3 separate regions of the Homo sapiens genome follow, and regions 1 and 2 are each linked to region 3. Evidence: promoter capture Hi-C in 16 types of primary human blood cells and fetal thymus (Javierre and others, 2016). All regions are on one chromosome and are shown on one strand. The core of a region is centred on a gene start or on the middle of the fragment in contact, and the rest is flanking DNA. Distances in the headings are between cores, read along the strand shown. Region 1 overlaps HECW2 (HECT, C2 and WW domain containing E3 ubiquitin protein ligase 2). Region 2 overlaps HECW2 (HECT, C2 and WW domain containing E3 ubiquitin protein ligase 2). Region 3 holds the start of DNAH7 (dynein axonemal heavy chain 7).

Region 1 (3,351 bases), core at 284-2,783, 210 kb after region 3:
GGTAGGTGGATCGCTTGAGCTCAGAAGTTCAAGGCCAGCCTGGGCAACATGGCAAAACCCTGTCTCTACAAAATATTCAAAAATTATCCGGGCATGTGGTGGCAGACACCTGTAGTCCCAGCTACTTGGGAGGCTGAAGTGAGAGGATCATTTGAGCCTGGGAGGTGGTGATTGCAGTGAGCCAAGATTGCACCACTGCACTCCAGCCTGGGTAGGTGACAGAGTGAGACCCCGTCTCAAAAAAAAAAAAAAAAAAAAAAAAAAGCGTGTTCTTTTACCGAAATACTTAAGATTTGGGGGAAAAAAATGAGGGAAGCTAAAGACCCTAAAACCACAAACAGAAGATTTTAAAAATCCCATTGTAAATGTACCAGTTTAAAAATTGAGAAGTGGGAGGCAACATAATGATTAAATGCTTTGAATTTGGAAAAAGACAAGCCTGGTTCTGAGCTCTAGTTTGCTACTCACTAGCAATGTCACCTTGGGCAAATTAGTTAAAATTTTTAAACCTCAGTTTCTTTTCCTGTTAAATGGGGATCATAACTACATTAAAGGAAGGTTAACTGAGATAGTTCATATGAATTTTTGAGCATGCTGCCTGTGACACGTCAAATATGAGGTCCTATTATTTTCACAAATAATAGTTTTCTTTTCTGAAACAGTTTCCTAAGGATCACAGTGTTTCTTGCTAAAGCCCATACACAAGGCTCAAAAAAAGGAGGACCAGTGAAAACTGTGTTTGTTAACAGGCTCCTTGTAAGTATGTGTGGCCGAGACTAAGTTCTGACCAGTAAGATGTAAAACATAGTACTTCTGGGAAATCTGATAAGGGACAGATGATCCTTCGTTCTGTCCTTCACCCATCCTACCCTCTGAAACACAAATTTAATAGTGGAGCTCCAGTAGCCATACTGAACCATGGTGATTGTTGAGGAAAAGAGTCAAACTCTGTAAAATATTTGAAGAGATTTATTCTGAGCCAAGCATGAGTGGCCAATGGCTTGTGACACAGCCCTCAAGAGATCCTGAGAATGTCTACCCAAGGTGGACTTGGTTTTATACATTTTAGAGAGGGCTAAGACACCAAAAACACATGCAAGATATATGTTAGTTCAGTCTGGAAAGGCGAGACAACTGGAAGCAGGGGTGGGGGCGGTTCTAGGTCATAGGGAGATTCAAAGATTTTCTGTTTGGCAATTGGTTATTATCTAAAGATCTGGAATCAATAGAAAGGAATGTCTGGGTTATGATAACGATTGTGGAGACCAAGGTTTTATCATGCAGATGAAGCCTCCAGGTAGCAGGCTTCAGAGAGAATAGACTGTAAATATTTCTTATCAGACTCAAAGGCTCTGTTCTATCAGTCTTAAGGTCTCTGTGTTGGTGTTAATGCTGGTCAGCTGCAAGGCATATCCAACCCCCCACTTTCCATCATGGCCTGAACTAGCTTTTTTAGGTTAACTTTGGAATGTCCTTGGCTGAGAGGAGGGGTCCATTCAGACGGTTGAGGGGTTTAGAATTTTATTTTTGGTTTACAAAATGAAGGATGGCTGAGCAAAAAGTTGGAAGGAGCGGCTAGGTGTGGTGGCTCACACCTGTAATCCCAGCACTTTGGGAGGCCAAGGCAGGCGGATCATGAGGTCAGGAGAGGGAGACCGTCCTGGCTAACATGATGAAACCTCGTCTCTACTAAAAATATACAAAAAGTTAGCTGGGCGTGGTGGCAGGCACCTGTAGTCCCAGCTACTCGGGAGGCTGAGGTAGGAGAATGGCGTGAACCCGGGAGGCAGAGGTTGCAGTCAGCAGAGATCACACCACTGCACTCCAGCCTGGGTGACAGAGCAAGACTCCATCTCAAAAAAAAAAAAAAAAAAAAAAAGTTGGAAGGAGATGGGGGCTCTTGCAACATGATGAACTCCCTGGTCAACCCTAGACTGCCTACCTCTCAACTTCTTTATGTGAGAGAATACACTTTTTTTTTTTTTTTTGAGATGGAGTCTTGCTCTGTTGCCCAGGCTGGAGTGCAGTGGCACAATCTTGGCTCCCTGCAACCTCTGCCTCCCAGGTTCAAGTGACTCTCCTGCCTCCACCTCCCAAGTAGCTGGAATTACAGGCACGCACCACCACGCTACCACACCTAATTTTTTGTATTTTTAATAGAGACGGGGTTTCATCACGTTGGCCAGGCTGGTGTTGAACTCCTGACCTCAGGTGATCCACCTGCTTTGGCCTCTCAAAGTGTCGGAATTACAGGCGTAAGCCACCATGCCTGGTGAGAATACAGTCTTGTATGTTAAAACGTATATGGGTTTTCCACTACAATACAGTCAAATCAAATCCCACTGGAAACAGTGAAGTTTCCACACTGCAGAGGAAAGACAGTCTCTCTAAAAGTAAAATCAGAAACCACCATTATATGTAGGGATTTTCCCTATTTGGTGAATAATGATATATCTATCATTCACCTTTAATACAGCCAGAATACAATTCCCAATTTAAGTGAAATGTACAGTTGGAACTTACCAAGCTGGGATTTGAACCCATGTTTCTGTCTGACCCCAAAGCCCAATGAGCAATATCTTTTTCCCCACCTCTCTGCTTTTCATACATCATCTCCTTTTTTCCATTCTGCTTTCTGCCTACCATCTTTTCCTTTTTATGTTCTTCCCACTCCCCTCACACCTTATATCATACTTTATTTTAGGAAAACATTTCATTATGTATTGAATGAGGCTGACGGTAACAGCCACTCACAGTGCTTGGCCTCACCAGTTTCAACACTGCAAAGTTTCAAGTGGAAAGACTGCTACTGATCCCAGACAGCATGCTCTACATACTGCGTCCAATTCTCATCGCTAATCTGTTGGAAGGATGGCCATGGGTGGAGAATAGGTCCTATTTGTATCCCACAAGGGGCTCTATTTCAGAGTCAAATGGAATGTGTATATTGTTTACACATGTTTTTTACATCTGCCAAGTACTTAGGGGAAAAGTCTCAATTAAGACCTCCATCAAAGCCACACAGCTAGGGCACTGACTGAATATAGCACTTCTAAGGAGCAATCCCTTGGTGTGAGTTTTGGCTCTGCTCTGGGCCCACTGTGTGACCTTGGACAGGTTTCCTTAGTGCTTTGCTTTATTCACATAAAGGAAATTACTCAGGTCACAGCTGAATTGTGAAAAATAGATTCTACTTTAAAATGAAGAGAAGAGCATGCAAAGTCCAAGCATGCCATTTCTATTTGTGACACACATATCAATTATGTCAGGAAAATGGATCACTTTCCCACAGGAAATGCTACCTAGTTCAAGCCAGCAATGAAGCTGACCTAGTACATTTGGATCACTTTA
Region 2 (2,864 bases), core at 365-2,864, 240 kb after region 3:
CTCAATTTCAGAACTCATTATTGGTCTATTCATAGATTCAATTTCATCCTGGTTCAGTCTTGGGAGGGTGTATGTGTCCAGGAACTTATCTATTTCTTCTAGATTTTCTAGTTTATGTACATAGAGGTGTTTATAGTATTCTCTGACACGGTTGTTTGTATTTCTGTGGGGTCAGTGGTAATCTGTCCCTTATCATTTCTGATTGTGTTTATTTGAGTCTTATCTCTTTTCTACTTTATTAGTCTAGCTACAGTTGCTCCTTCTTGAAGCCCTTTTTTCTCCTATCCCATATTCCAATCTATTAGCAAGAATGTCATCTCTGTCTTCAAAATATATCCAATATTCATCCATTTGTCACCGTCTCTACTGCTAACTGCGTTAGCCCAAGCCACTTCCATGCCTTACCACAGTAGCTTTTCACTTAGTCTCCCTGATGCCAAGCTTGCCCTCTAAAACCCATTCTTTGCATAACAGCTAGAAGGAACTTAAAAAACTCTAAATTACTCCCATATAGAAAACCCTTTCAGAATAAAGCCCAAATACCTTGCCAGATCATGCAAGCCCAACCTTCTGTAGCCCTGCACGCTTCCCTGACCATATTATGTGCCACAGAAAACTCATTCCTACCCCTGAGTCTCTGCACTTCCTTGGCAAGGCAGGTTCTGTTCTCAGACATTTACCTTATCGGCTTCTGGGCATTTTATGACGGCTTGAATGTGGCTCCCTTGGAAAGGCCTTCCTGTCCACCTGATCTAAAATAGTGCCTCCTTGTGAGATTTTGAGATTAAAAAATAAAATAAAATAAAATAGTGCCTCCTCCACCTCATCCCCAAGTAACTCTATCCCAGTGTGTGGTTTCAGTTGCCTCACACCACACTACAGTACCTGCATTATCTTTTTTATTCACTAGTCTGTTAACTATATTCTACTCTGTCTTATTTACCACTCTATTCCCAGAGTCTAGAATGTACCAGGCAAATCACAGGCATTTAATAAATACTGATTAAATGAAGGCATGAACAAATGAACAAAAAACAAAGGGGAGCTTGTGCCTTCTGACTCCAAGTCTGAGTCTCTTCCTATTAAAGCATGATTTTTTTCTGTGTTACAGTGACAACTCTAAATGTTAGCCCATTCTGCCTTGCATGAAAGCCTGTCACCTCCTAGAATTGTCCCATATATGAGTTTAGGTTTGTGTAGCCTAGCTTCTGTATCCCTTCCCAGGCTCAAATCTGACTTTCACTAGTGTCCTATGTTCTCAATACACCAGCAACACCGAATTGCTTACAATACTAATAATCCAGTTTTAGAACTTCTGCAGTAATTATCAAGACAGACTTGCAGCTTCACGAATCGATTGTTTTGCAAATGATGCTTCTTCTACCTAGAGTACTCCTGCCCATCTTGTTTCTGGGACAAGCTCTTAATCAGCCTTTAAAACTAATCTCAAATCCAAACCTGTCTATGGCCCCTTCCATGTGCCTTCCCTTTGGAGTTAATCGTCCACTCCAGCAGTGTATCTTCTATAGCCATCCATTATTGCACTTGTAATTCTGGTTATGACATTATAATTGCTCTCAAGTCTGGGATGCCAGGGCCCACAGTTGCTGTCATCTCTGTATCCCTAGGTCTTAGCTCAGTGCCTAGCACATAATCATCAACAAACTTGCGAAGCTGAGTGCTCAGTAAATCTAACCCCTCTCTCATAATATATGAGGATAGCTAGCATGTTATTCGTTGCTTACTCTCCTCCCAAGTCTTCTCTGCTCCAAGCTAAACCTGTAAACCAGGAGACAATGATGAGGAAAGGCAGACAGATGTTTATACTTGTAAAGCAAAGCTAAAGAAGGCAGAAAAATATTAACATAAGTAAATATGTATTAATATATACTAATTACCTCACCACATACTCCTGGTGATAGGACTATGTTGACTTTTATTTTTCTCTATGATCTACTCTGTTTTTCTGAAAGTGTAGGATATGTCTTGTTAAATTCAATATGTTCTCCTTCAATTCCTTTAACAAGTCCCTCATTCGAATTTTCCTAGTATTATTAATTATGTATTGTTCATTATTTATGTATTATTATTATTAATACTCAAGGTCAACTTCTTCAGTTTCTATTCTGCCTACTTACCCACCAAATCTTGTCAACTCCCTGTCTGCGATTCCTCTCATGCTGAATCCTTTTTGTCTATTTTCTTATATCCTAGTACAGGTTCCTATCAACACATGCCATGATGAATGGATTATATCCTGCTAGACTTCTATGGCCAATGTTTCCCTCATTCTAAATCACTTCATGTGCAGTTAAAATGACCTTCCTTTAATTACTATCTTCAGTAAGCCACTCCCTCAGCCCTCGGAGACTCGTGGAATAATCCTTTAAATCCTCCTGTTATGGGTCCGATGTTTGTGTCCCCCAGAGTTCATATGTTGAAACCTAATCACCAATATAATAGTATTAGGAGATGGGGGCAGGAGGTGACCTAAGAGGTAATTAGGAATTAATACCCTTATAAAAGAAGCCTGAGAGAGCAAGCACCCTCCGCCCTTAGACCATATGAAGATGGAGGGAGAAGATGCTATCTACACACAAGGAAATGGACTGTCATCAGACACCATATCTGCCAGTGCCTCAATCTTGGCCTTCACAGCTCCAGAATCATGAGAAATAAATTTCTGTTGCTTATAGGCCACCCAGCTTACAGTGCTTTGTTATAGCAGCCCAATGAACTCAAACGGTTTCTTTGGACTAAACCGGTTAAAGTGTACAGTGCTCAACACAAAGCTTGGAACACACTAAGTGCTCTGGAAACATTCGCCATTATCATTCCTGCTATTACTACAGAAACAACGATCA
Region 3 (3,185 bases), core at 198-2,697:
ATATCATGTAGAAAAAAACTAGTAAGATCTATTAAACAATTGCTCAGTGTTTTTGGTTACTTGTATCTGAACTTTTTGTTTTTTGCTTGTCATTTACTCTTTTATTATTAATACCAATACTAATTATACTTTAGCATATGAATCAGTGTCCATTTCTTAGTTCTTAAATTATACTTATTTTTTTAAAAAGGTTCAAACCAAATTTTCTTGAGCATTTCAGGTATTAATTACTTATTTGATGAACTAACCAATCAGGATCTTCACATAGTTCTGTTAGTAATGTACAACTCAATGGATAGGAGACTAAATCCGTTTTAATACTGTTTCCACAATAAATTCTAACACTACCGAAAAAAGCATTATAAAGCAATAAAAAAGAAATAATTACCGTTTAATATTGTTTAAAAGCTAAATGAAATTTGCAGGCTTAAAAACAACTGTTTTTCTTCCAGGAGGTTTATAGAGTCCTTTTCCTTATTCATCACTACGTAGAAAGCTAGAGTTATTTTCTAGCTAGCCAGAATAATGACCACGTTTAATATCTTCCCATTCTGTGCTGATATTAAGACGACTGACCATTGTTCTGCCTTTCTGTTAGTTGCTCTTAAGTTCAATAAAGAAAGAATTCTTAGAAGAAAAAGGAGAGAAAGACAGAAAGGAAAAAAACGAGAAAAAAAGAGAAAGAAAAGCAGCTATTGCAAAGTGCATCTTTTATCACATACCATGGAATATCATCTTAAGAAGTGCCATATGTCACTTACCAAGGCCTTTCATGTATAGTATAATATTGTATAGTTATGGTATGGCATGGTATCTAATTTGAAATTGACAACAACCTCAAAAAGAAGAAAAGTTGTTCTGATGTTTCCCCCGCTCTGCATAAGAGGTGGGAGAACTAAGGCTTACAAAGACTAAGAGATTTGTCCAAAGTCACATGGCTAGGAGTTGGCTTCGATTCCCACCTTAGAACCCAAACCCGCTGCAACTCCTCGCAGAGCCGCCTCTCACCCAAGCACACCGCCATTAGCACTCTGGGGGTGCTCTGGGCTGTGGCTCCCCCTGCTGGCGCGCCGCTAGGCGGCTAGGTTTGGTTGTTATGACGACCAAGGGCAAACAGCTGGGAAGGGAACTTATAAGGGCATTCACGGAAAGCGCTCAGTAACCCAGGCCACAAGTGGGGTGAAGGAAGCTGTACACCGCGGAGTCACAGCTGGGGAGTTCGCTAGGCAGGAGGGGCTTCCACCACTTCCGAAACGCCTGGGAAGCGTCGCGGCGGCGGCGAGCCTGGCAAAGAGCAGCCCTCTCACCTGCTCACTGCTCATGGCTGCGAGGACGCGCTGGCCTCACCGGTGCTTCTGGGTTGCTCCTGCCCGCGGAACCCCTAGGACGATAGAGGCAGGGCCCCGGGACTTGCAGCGGTCTCAGCTCCCTCCGCACCAGAGCCGTCTAGCGTCCGGGCAGCGTTTGTTGCTAAGCAACGGGCCCGCGCAGGTTCCATTTCCGGTCATCTGTTCCTTCTGGGGCTGGACCCGGAAGCTGGCGCGCGGTCCCGCAAGAGGAGCTTTCTGGGGCGCTGCTGCCAGTGTTGTGAGGTCTAAGGTGTGCGTTGAATAACCAAAGACACTGGGTGGGTCTCCTCCAATATCCTCTGATTACTGAAGTAGATCCTCACACTTCCGCACCCTCCTTCTAAATAAGCCGGATGCCCAGGACTGCTGCCTTAACCCCTCAGAGGTCTCGGAGAAACACTGGAATGAAATGATTACAGATTTCATTGCTAATGTGGGCGAGTGGAGTAATGCGAGGCAGGATCCAGTAAACACCTTTCATTATTCATGTGCTTCCAACCCCTGTGCTGTTGACTCTTCCCACACTCCAGAAAACTATCCTTTGGAAGAATACCAGTAAAGGAACCTTCCAACAATTCTTGAAACCAACATTCACAGATGGTTTACTACATGAAAAGTGGTGTGCTAAGCACAAATGTGACCAAGACATCCATTCGCCACAGGCTGGGGGGTGTCCAAGCCAAGCACTTACCGTGTAGTGGAGACGGTGCTAAGAATGGCAGTCCTCAGTGAGAACATAAAGCACCAACTAATTTTCTCATGGAGGGCATGGAAGGGATGTGGAAGCTGAAATGTGAAGGAAGAAGAAATGCCAGGCAAAGAATGCCGGGCAAAAAGCAGGTCACATACAAAGGCCTGAGACAAGAGAGCATAGCTATTGGAAGCAGTGAAAATGGTTCTGAGAGGTCGATGAGTAGGTTTGGATAAAGGGGATTGGAGCCAGTCTAGAGAAGAAGCTGAGGTGATAAGCAGGTGATATATCTTAAAGGACCCTATAAAAGGGCAGGAGTTTGGATGTCAAAAGCAACTGACCTCCACTGAAAAGTTTTATGCTAAGAAATGGCAGAATTCCATCCTGAAATTAACAAGGAACCCCAAGGGGTCATAAATAGCCAAAACAATCTTGAAATTAAAGAACAAAGTTGGAGTACTCACACTTCTTGATTTCAGAACTTACTACAAGACTATAGTGACCTTAACAATTTATTTTCAACAAATGATGCTGGGGAAACTAAATGTCCATATGCGGAAAAAAATGCAGTTGGACCTTTACCTAAAAACATCATATACAAAATTATCTCAAAATTGATCAAAGATGTAACTGTAAGGTCTTAAACTATAAAACTCTTAGAAGAAAACTTAGAAGAATCGCTTCACGACATTGGATTTGGCAGTGATTTCTTGGACATGACACCAAAACGACAAGGAAAAAATAGACAATTCGGCTGCATCAGAATAAAAAACCTTTGTGCATCAAAGAATACTCTCATCAGTAAAAAGACAATCCACACAGGCCGGGTGTGTTGGCTTACGCTTGTAATCCCAGCACTTTGGGAGGCCGAGGCAGGCAGATCACGAGGTCAGGAGATCGAGACCATCCCGCCTAACATGGTGAAACCCTGTCTCTACTAAAAACACACACAGAAAATTAGCCGGGTGTGGTGGTGGGCACCTGTAGTCCCAACTACTCGGGAGGCTGAGGCAGGAGAATGGCATGAACCCAGGAGGCGGAGGTTGCAGTGAGCCGACATCACACCACTGCACTCCAGCCTGGGCGACACAGTGATACTCCGTCTCAAAAAAAAAAAAAAAAAAGTCCACAGAATGGAAGGAGAT

What was found. The method cuts DNA at HindIII sites, captures the fragments that hold promoters and counts their contacts. A CHiCAGO score of 5 or more calls a contact.
Region 1: a fragment that was not itself captured here is called in contact with the fragment with the promoter of DNAH7 in region 3 in 1 of 17 cell types (non-activated CD4 T cells); the score reaches 7.2 in non-activated CD4 T cells.
Region 2: a contact is called between a fragment that was not itself captured here and the fragment with the promoter of DNAH7 in region 3, in 1 of 17 cell types (non-activated CD4 T cells). The highest score is 5.2, in non-activated CD4 T cells.

What each region holds. Positions count from the first base shown.
Region 1 is chr2:196,281,406-196,284,756 of GRCh38, forward strand. The region is part of intron 14 of HECW2 (HECT, C2 and WW domain containing E3 ubiquitin protein ligase 2); the gene reads right to left. Among named protein-coding and RNA genes, the nearest start is that of HECW2-AS1, 23 kb to the left of the region's middle. The HindIII fragment of the contact is 4,051 bases long and covers 1-3,351 here.
Region 2 is chr2:196,303,573-196,306,436 of GRCh38, forward strand. All of the region lies in intron 13 of HECW2 (HECT, C2 and WW domain containing E3 ubiquitin protein ligase 2), which reads right to left. Among named protein-coding and RNA genes, the nearest start is that of HECW2-AS1, 45 kb to the left of the region's middle. The HindIII fragment of the contact is 2,351 bases long and covers 440-2,790 here.
Region 3 is chr2:196,067,390-196,070,574 of GRCh38, forward strand. DNAH7 (dynein axonemal heavy chain 7) reads right to left here and starts at 1,448. Exons shown (of 65, transcript NM_018897.3): 1 at 1,308-1,448. The coding sequence starts at 1,322. RefSeq lists enhancers at 740-789, 1,270-1,359. The HindIII fragment of the contact is 14,129 bases long and covers 1-3,185 here.